Regions from separate parts of the Homo sapiens genome. Here all the other regions are linked to region 3. The links are contacts of gene promoters, found by promoter capture Hi-C in blood cells and fetal thymus (Javierre and others, 2016). All regions are on one chromosome and are shown on one strand. The core of a region is centred on a gene start or on the middle of the fragment in contact, and the rest is flanking DNA. Distances in the headings are between cores, read along the strand shown.

Region 1 (2,772 bases), core at 139-2,638, 100 kb after region 3:
GAGCCAAATGGGGAAACAGGATCTAGAAAGCCAGTGCTAGGTTTGGCTAGTGAGGTTCTTGGGTGACTCTGCCTTCTAGAACAGGAAATAAATGTCCCTAGGAATGAACGGTTTCGATATTTTGTCTTCCAGAACCTTCTAGAACCTAATGCCAAGGGGAGAGGAATAGGGAAGCCTGAATCATAGCTCTGTAGCTATGGAGGGGTCCTTGGGGTGATGGGTGTGGGGGTGCTCCCTTGGGAGGGAGGAAAAGGTAGGTTGGCTTCCCAGCTGGAGCTCCCCTCCTGCTCCAGCAGAGCCCCACTCTTCCACCCTGGCTGCCCCCCTCCCATCTTCTCACTCTGCTCTTTCTTTTCCCCCTTCCTCATTTTCTACTCCTCCTTCTCCCTCTTGCTTCTCCCAGAATGTCTCTCCTTTCTCTCTAGGCTGGGCCACCTCACCCCCTCCCCTTCCCCTTTCCTGTAACTGAAGCTGTTGTTGGGAGTTGGAGGAGCTGGGCTGGTTTGAAAGGAGGCCCTGCTGCTTTTCAGGGAGGAATTGAAACTGTGGAGCTGGGGGTGAGGGGAGGCAGCAGAGGGGGAGGGGGGTGACTTGAGAAATCAAAGCGGCTGCAACTCCATCTGGGAAACCAACTTTGATTTACTAGCAAGGACCTGGCTCTCCCACTACCCCCACCCTTGCCCACTCCCCCTCCTTCCCTGGACTTTGCTTTGTGGTGATAACTGGGGGAAGGGGGGACGGACCCCCTTCCAACATGGAAGCCTGCTCTTAACCTGGGAGGACCAGCCTAGAGGAAGAAGGCCTGGGGGACTCTGCTCAGTCAGGCTGCAGATGCGGCTGAAGGGGGCCCAGCATCTCAGGAACTGGGTAGGAGAATGGATACCCCTGGGAAGGAGGAAAGCCTATTGGCCAGGCAGCCTGGCCCAGGCAGACTCAGCCCTGCTCTGGCTTGGGGCGACCCCCTCCCTGAGATGTGGGGCTGGGATGGGGGCACAGAGGAAGAAGGCCAGGGCTTTTTCATTTATCTATGGCCTTCCCCTCAGAACTGGGGGGCTTAGGGTCCAAGGCTGCCTGGTAAGAGCCAAGAAAAGAAAATGACTGAGAAGGAAAAAGGAACATCTATTGTAATAGACTATTTTGTGTTGAAATTCAATGTGAGCTATGGAGGACATTGGGTTCTGGTAGGGACTTGAGGCCATTTTGGGTGGAAGTGCTACCTTTCTCCTCCCTTCCTCTCTTGTACCCTCTGTTTTACTTTTCTTCTCCTCTGTCCAATTCTTAAACCCCTCAAGGTTGAAGGGGCTCTCTAACCAAACCCCTGCAATAGAAATAGGATCCCGAAGGTCCTAAACCCCCGGGGCCAGGGTAGAAATTCAGAACAAAATGAGTCATAACTTCAGGAAATGCTTATTCATGTTGTCAGCTGACTCCATCCAGTCCTCCTTGGTGGGGTGGTGAGTTTAAATCCCTGGACTCCTGGGTTCTAGGCAGACCCCCCCCTTCTCCTGAGCCTCCATCACAGCAGCATTTTTCAGGGTTCAGCATCCAACTTTCAGGACTAGCTCTTAGGAGAGAAAGGGACTAATTCAGCACAAATCTAGCCTTTTCTGCTCACTGCTAACCTTTCACTGCTCAAATCTAACCTTTCACTGCTCACTGTAGTGTCTGGGACTGCCCCATCAGAGCTCCTGCCCAGGGATAAAGTTTCTGAAAGCTGAGTCCACATGCATCAGTCCACATGCTGAGTCCATTATGGCAGGAGGGGAAATGGGAACTGGGGTTTGCCTGTTAGGAATATAGATTCCTGGGCCCTGCCCACTTATCCAAATATACCATCCCCAAGTGATTCGTACGTTCACTCTAAAGCTATCTGCTTTCCAAACCTCCAGACCATTCAATTAGCTTTCAGAGCCCTAGTTACTTTTTTTTTTTTTTTCTCTTCCAGATGAGGTCTTGTTCGGTCACCCAGGCTGAAGTATAGTGGCACGATCACAGCTCGCTGCAGCCTCAAACTCCTGGGCTCAAGAGATCCTCCCACCATTCCCACCACCTTCCTATACTGCAGAGGTTGGAAGCCAAAAACCTCACCTCTCAGCCTCCCTTGCAGCTAGAGCTCTGGATGCAAAATACGCTTATTTGAGATTTGGAAGGTGGAAGGGAAATGAGGTCATGTTCTTGCTGCAGTGGCAATTTCTAGTGATCCCTAGGTGCAGTTACCTTGGCTTAATTACAATGGAAGCCTTTTTTTTTTTTTTTTTTTTTTTTGATAGAGTTTCACTCTGTCCCCCAGGCTGGAATACAATGGTGTGAACTTGGCTCACTGCAACTTCCCACTCGCGGGCTCAAGCGATTCTCAGGCCTCAGCTTCCTGAGTAGCTGGGATTACAGGTGTGCACCATCACACCCAGCTAATTTTTGTTTGTTTAGTAGAGACAGGGTTTTGCCACGTTGGCCAGGCTGGTCTCAAACTCCTGACCTCAAGTGATCTGCCTGCTTTGGCCTCCCAAAGTGCTGGGATTACAGGCATGAGCCACTGCAACCGGTCCCAATGGTAGCCTCTTGATCCCCCTACCTGCTAGTGGCAGAGGTAGCAGCTTCTACTGGAGGGTCATTTCTGTGGCTTCGTGACAAAGTCTACTCCTCCAGGCCATCCAAGTTTCACAAACACCTAGTTTCCTGCTTGTTTTAGTCTGCTTGGGCTCCATAACAAAATACTACAGATTGGATAGCTTAAATGACAGAAATTTATTTTCTCATAGTTCTGGAAGCTGA
Region 2 (2,827 bases), core at 196-2,695, 87 kb after region 3:
GAAACTCCTGAAAGTAGCCACCTTGGTCTTTTATAATAGAGACTGGGAGGCCCAGGAAAGAGAGAGGAGATACAGGAAAGAGGCAAAAGCTTTAATGGCCATCGTGCAAGTCCACAAATCCCAGAATTCCCAGGGTGCACCTGTTAACTGCTAAAAGATATGGCAAGAACAGTTATCTCTTCTCAAGTTGAACTGCTCCTATATAAGGTTTAATTTCTTACAGCTCAGGGTACAATGTTGTTAGTATATTTTACTTCTTGTCTCTGGAATCTTTGGCACTAAATTCTTTCCTTGTATAATACACGTTTAATTTATGCACACTTAACCTTATAAAACTTGTTTTATTCTCTTGCGCCTAGAAGCCACCAAACTGCAAACGGTCAGGCAATCGGAGCCTCGGATGATGGCTCCCCTTTCCTAGGAACCCTTAGATAGACCTCTAGGAGGAGTCTGACTGCTGTTTTCCCCAAAACAATGCCCCCTATCAGCATGAAGCAGCTAAGACCAGTCATCGTCCATATTCTAAGGGCAGTTAGATGTACCTCTTCACACGGAGGAAATGATAGGGAAGTGCTGGGAAGGGAAGACTGTGGTCCTTTTAAATGATAGGGAACAGTTTAAAAACTATTGGTAACACTTCTCTTGTCAAGAAATTAGATCTTTTGATCCACTGATTTTATTTTTGGAAATGTATTCTAAGTGGGGGCCAGGCGCGGTGGCTCACACCTGTAATCCCAGCACTTTGGGAGGCCAAGGCGGGCGGATCACGAGGTCAGGAGATCGAGACCATCCTGGCTAACCCGGGGAAACCACATCTCTACTAAAAATACAAAACAAAACAAAAAAAACTAGCCAGGCGTGGTGGCGGGCGCCTGTAGTCCCAGCTACTCCAGAGGCTGAGGCAGGAGAATGGCGTGAACCCGGGAGGCGGAGCTTGCAGTGAGCCGAGATCGCGCCACCGCACTCCAGCCTGGGCGACAGAGCCAGACTCCGTCTCAAAATAAATAAATAAATAAATGTATTCTAAGTAATTGGAAAAGTGCTACAATTTATTGAACTACTGCCTGAGGGCTCTGTAGATGTATGGTCCCGTCTACTACTCATGTTACCAGACAGGTACTATCAGCCTTTTTATAGATGAGGACACACGCTCAGAGGTTAGAAAAATGCCACAAGTGCTCACAGCTACTACTGCAGTGAGTGGTACCAAAGCATGTCAAAGCCTCTGCTCGCCATACATTGTCTGTCTCTCTCTCCGTTTTTCCCAACTACAAATTTCATTCATCCATATTCCACTCTGCTGCATCTTGATCACTTGTTACCTGATCAAGGGGCAGGATTGAACTGAGTGAATAATCTGGTTCCGGGGTACTCCTGGTTTTGTAGGCCCAGTGGCTTTCCCTCCTCACCCCCACCCCCTTTCCATAGCAGAGGTGATTAGAGACCGGGGGATACTGGAGTCTGAGAAGGTAAGGGCTGTCCTTTAGAGAAGGAGAGGTAGCTAGTAATCAGGACTAGAAAATGTCTAGACAGGCCAGGCACGGCGGCTCATGCCTGTAATTCCAGTACTTTGGGAGGCCGAGGCGGGAGGATCACCTGAGGTCAGGAGTTTGAGACCAGCCTGGCCATCGTGGTGAAACCCCATCTCTACTAAAAATACAAAAATTAGCCAGGTGTGGTGATGCACACCTGTAATCCCAGCTACTCAGGAGGTTGAGGCAGGAGAATTGCTTGAACTCGGGAGGCGGAGATTGCAGTGAGCTGAGATCGCGCCACTACACTCCAGCCTGGGCGACAGAGTGAGACTCAGTCTCAAAAAAAAAAAAAAAAAATGTCTAGACCAGCGACTCGAAAACTAGTTTGGGGGCAGGCGGGTAGGGAGAGAGGTCAGGGAGGGATGATCTAGAAACTTCCTAAAGCTACACACAATTGCATATTCATGGGGGATCTGGCTATTTTTTTTTTCCAGGAAGAGGTCCAAAGAGTTTTGAGATTCTCAGATGGTCAGTGGCCCCCAGAAGTTTAAGATCCATTTAAGGTAAGAAGAGTGATTCTAGAGGAGGAGGGACCCTGGTACAGTGAGTAGCAAGACTGCAGAAGGGAGGGCTCGCCCGGCTCAGACCCCATGGCAGGCACCCCCGGGACAGCATCTCCCCACCCTCCTGAAGAGATTTTGGAACAAAAAGCAGTTCCCCATCCCACTGGGCTGAACCTAATCTTAATTCTTTGGGGATGTTCAGAAGAATTTTGTCTTGAGAAACTTTAGTGGCCTTTTTCTAGAGCTAGCTCTTCAAAAAATCTTAAAGGGCAAAAAGTTTGGAACTAACGTTAAAGTCTTCTGGAGGGAAGTCTGGGCTGGGAGGAGGGAAAGCCTGATCAATAAGAGGGGGGAGTCTGGAGGAGAAATGCCTGGGACCTTGAAACCCCAGACCATTGCCCTGGGGGAGGGCAGAAGAGCAGGCAGAAAGCAGCGTGGGCCTGAGACCTGCCCCAGGCCCAGGTGCCACAGGTGAGTGTATTTCCTTCTTGGCCCTGACCCTCCAGCAAACACAAAGCCTCGCTCTTCCAGAGGGAGGGACCAGCCCACTTACAACATGGAAACCCTTTTCTGCTCAAAGGACGACCTAGAAATCTCCAAAAGCAGATCTCTAAGCTCCTGTTTTTAACTGGGTTTTCTGAACAAGGGAGCTGAGGTGCCCTCTCCCGTGAGGCAGTGAGTTCAGGTGGTTTACCTCTGAGTCTTCCTCCAGGGTGCTTTCTCCTCTTTACCCCAAATTCCCCAAACTGTGGTCTAAAGCTTCCCTTCCTCTAAGAGTGTTTCATTTAA
Region 3 (2,924 bases), core at 297-2,796:
ATATATACATACATATATATATATATATATATATATTTTTTTTTTTTTTTTTGTAAAAACAGGGTCTTTCTGTGTTGCCCAGGCTGGTCTTGAACTTCTGGCCTCAAGCAATCCTCCCAAAGTGCTGGAATTACAGGTGTGAGACATTGCACTCAGCCTTTTTGTTTTGTTTTCTTTCTTCTTCTTCTTTTTCTTCTTCTTTTTTTTTTTTAAAAAGCCAGTTGGATACAGTGGCATGCTCCTGTAGTCCCAGCTAGTCCGGAGCCTGTAGTGGGAGGATCCCTTAAGCCCAGGAGTTTGAGGCTGCAGTGCGCTGTGATCATGACACTGCACTCCATGCTGGCGTGCATGAGAGATGAGAGACCCCATCTCTCAAAAAAAATTTTTTTTTAAAAAAGATGGCTATCCTAGAGGATGTGAATTGGTATCTCATTGTGGTTTTGACTTACATTTCCCTAGTGACTAATGATGTTGACCATCTTTTCATGTGCTTATTGGTATATCTTCTTTGGAGAAATACCTATTTAAGTTCTTGGCTCATTTTTTGAAGTCATACTGTCTTGTCGTGTATTAATATGGTTTGTCGTAGAAATAAAAATTACTGGCAAATTTAACACTCTATTGAATTCGAGTGAATACATTAACAAAGAAAACATTTTGGTTATGAACAGAGTAAGTATATAATATGTAGTTAGTTCTTTCAGTTCTTTCATTCTCTTTTGGAAGATCTCATTTTCAACGTGTGTGTTGAGGGTTGGGTGGGGTTAGTTTCCCAGTCTTACTCAGACATATATACAAACCTCAGATTAAAGTGAGAAAGAGTTAGGAATACTCAAATAATTGTTTTATGTCTTCTCTGCCTTGATCTGAACTTAAAATTTTGTGGAGGGAGAGACTATTGACCCTCTTTCTCCATTTATTGTTTCTATACAGGGACAATGACGAAAGACATGTTTATACAATAAGATTAATTACATTTCAGTAACTTTGATCCAATTCAGAATGATGCTGCCCTCAAGTAAAAAAAACTTTTTCTTTTTCTTTTCTTTTCTTTTTTTTTTTTTGGAGTCTCACTCTGTTGCCCAGGCTGGAGTGCAATGGTACGATCTCAGCTCACTGCAACTTCCGTCTCCCAGATTCAAGCAATTCTCGTGCCTCAGGCTTCTGAGTAGCTGGGATTACAGGCACACACCACCAGGCCCAGCTAATTTTTCTATTTTTAGTAGAGACGGGGTTTCACCATGTTGGCCAGGCTGGTCTTGAACTCCTGACCTTGTGATCCGCCTGCCTCGGCTTCCCAAGTAAAAAACTTTTTTTTCCACTTACTATTTTGGGGATATTTAAGTGAATCTGAAATTACTATTGGATTTTTTTTTTCTCTTGAAACAGAGTTTTGCTCTTGTTGCCCAGGCTGGAGTGCAATGGTGCAATCTCGGCTCGCAGCAACCTCCACCTCCCAGGTTCAAGTGATTCTCCTACCTCAGCCTCCCAAGTAGCTGGGATTACAGGCACCCGCCACCACGCCCAGCTAATTTTTGTATTTTTACGGAGACAGGGTTTCACCATGTTGGCCATGCTGTTTTCACCATGTTGGCCGGGCTGTTTTCGAACTCCTGACCTCAGATGATCCATCTGCCTCCCAAAATGCTGGGATTACAGACGTGAGCCACCTCACCCGGCCCTACTATTGGATTTTTAAAGACAGATATTTAAGAACATTCTTTGCTAGAACTGAGGACAATTTAAACTTATTCCATTCAAGAAAACTTAGTGCAGAATGCAGACTTTCCCTTTCAAGTATATGTAAAAGTTAACTTCTTTTTTTTTCCACCTCTGGAAGACAATGTACAATGTAGTACTCTTCAGATACACTAATGAGACCCTTTTTATACTTTAACAGGGACGTAAACATTTCCTTTTGTAACAAAAATAAATTATGGGTTTCATTTTAAAAAGCCTATCCCCAAGAAATGTTTTGAGTGTTAATCTAAGTAAGATTTCATTATTCTCATAAGTAAAACTTTGAGTTCAAATAAAGTTTTGATTTTTTTTTTGATAATTGAAGGTATATGTAGGGGCTCAACCTAAATGCCAGGGAATTAACCCTCCATAGGAAGTAATCATATAATTCTAAGTCAGTATATAATTGAATTGATGTAGGATTTTTAAGTATTCTCTCAACTATATTAAATGAATTGTTTTTCCAGTTTTCTAGTGGTCCAAAAACTTAAATAGGCTGCAAATCTGCTGTGATTCAAACCGTGCAATTCCTCACAGGCATCTCTGACTTGAGGGACTAAGTTCCTGTAATTATGTGTCCTGAAATTAACTGGGTTGCCAGATAGGTTTTCTCAACCTTTAATAGCTTGTTGGAAGGCTTACAGAATGCTCTTTATTAGAAATATTTGGAACTACTTCCCCCCTTTTGGATACTCAAATTAGTGTTTTTCTAGTTCTCTGGCATAATTTGTATAGCTGCTTCCTTTGTAGAAAGTAAGCTTATGTTCTGCTTTTCCCTTTCTGGTTGGCTGGAGTGCTAGGTCACTCTTATCTGTGCTCTAGGAAACTTTTAGATTTCTACTTAGCTTAGGATGACACCCTGAAAGATTTAGGGTCTGCTTCTGTTTGGGTTAGGGGGTAGACACTTGAATTCATTGGTCTTTTTTTTGGCTCACTGCAGCCTTGACCTCCAGCACTCAAGGGATCCTCCCACTTCAGCCTCTAGAGTAGCTGCAACTATAGGTGCCTGCCACTATGCTCACTAATTTTGTGTATTTATTGTAGAGACAAGGTCTTACTGTATTCCTAGGCTGGTCTCGGACTCCTGGACTCAAGGGATCTTCCTTCTTCAGCCTCCCAAAGTGCTAGGGTAACAGGCATGAGCCACCATGCCCGGCCAAATAGATTGGTTTTTATCAAAGATG

The links. Contacts are between HindIII fragments. The CHiCAGO score rates a contact against its expected background, and 5 or more counts as called.
Region 1: a fragment that was not itself captured here is called in contact with the fragment with the promoter of LINC01180 in region 3 in 1 of 17 cell types (megakaryocytes); the score reaches 6.1 in megakaryocytes.
Region 2: a fragment that was not itself captured here is called in contact with the fragment with the promoter of LINC01180 in region 3 in 1 of 17 cell types (endothelial precursors); the score reaches 6.3 in endothelial precursors.

The regions. Positions count from the first base shown.
Region 1 is chr17:44,545,846-44,548,617 of GRCh38, reverse strand. No RefSeq gene overlaps it. Among named protein-coding and RNA genes, the nearest start is that of FZD2, 10 kb to the left of the region's middle. RefSeq lists an enhancer at 8-555. The HindIII fragment of the contact is 7,724 bases long and covers 1-2,772 here.
Region 2 is chr17:44,562,270-44,565,096 of GRCh38, reverse strand. No RefSeq gene overlaps it. Among named protein-coding and RNA genes, the nearest start is that of FZD2, 6.2 kb to the right of the region's middle. The HindIII fragment of the contact is 2,708 bases long and covers 92-2,799 here.
Region 3 is chr17:44,648,971-44,651,894 of GRCh38, reverse strand. LINC01180 (long intergenic non-protein coding RNA 1180) reads left to right here and starts at 1,546. Exons shown (of 3, transcript NR_110661.1): 1 at 1,546-2,924. The HindIII fragment of the contact is 9,700 bases long and covers 1-2,500 here.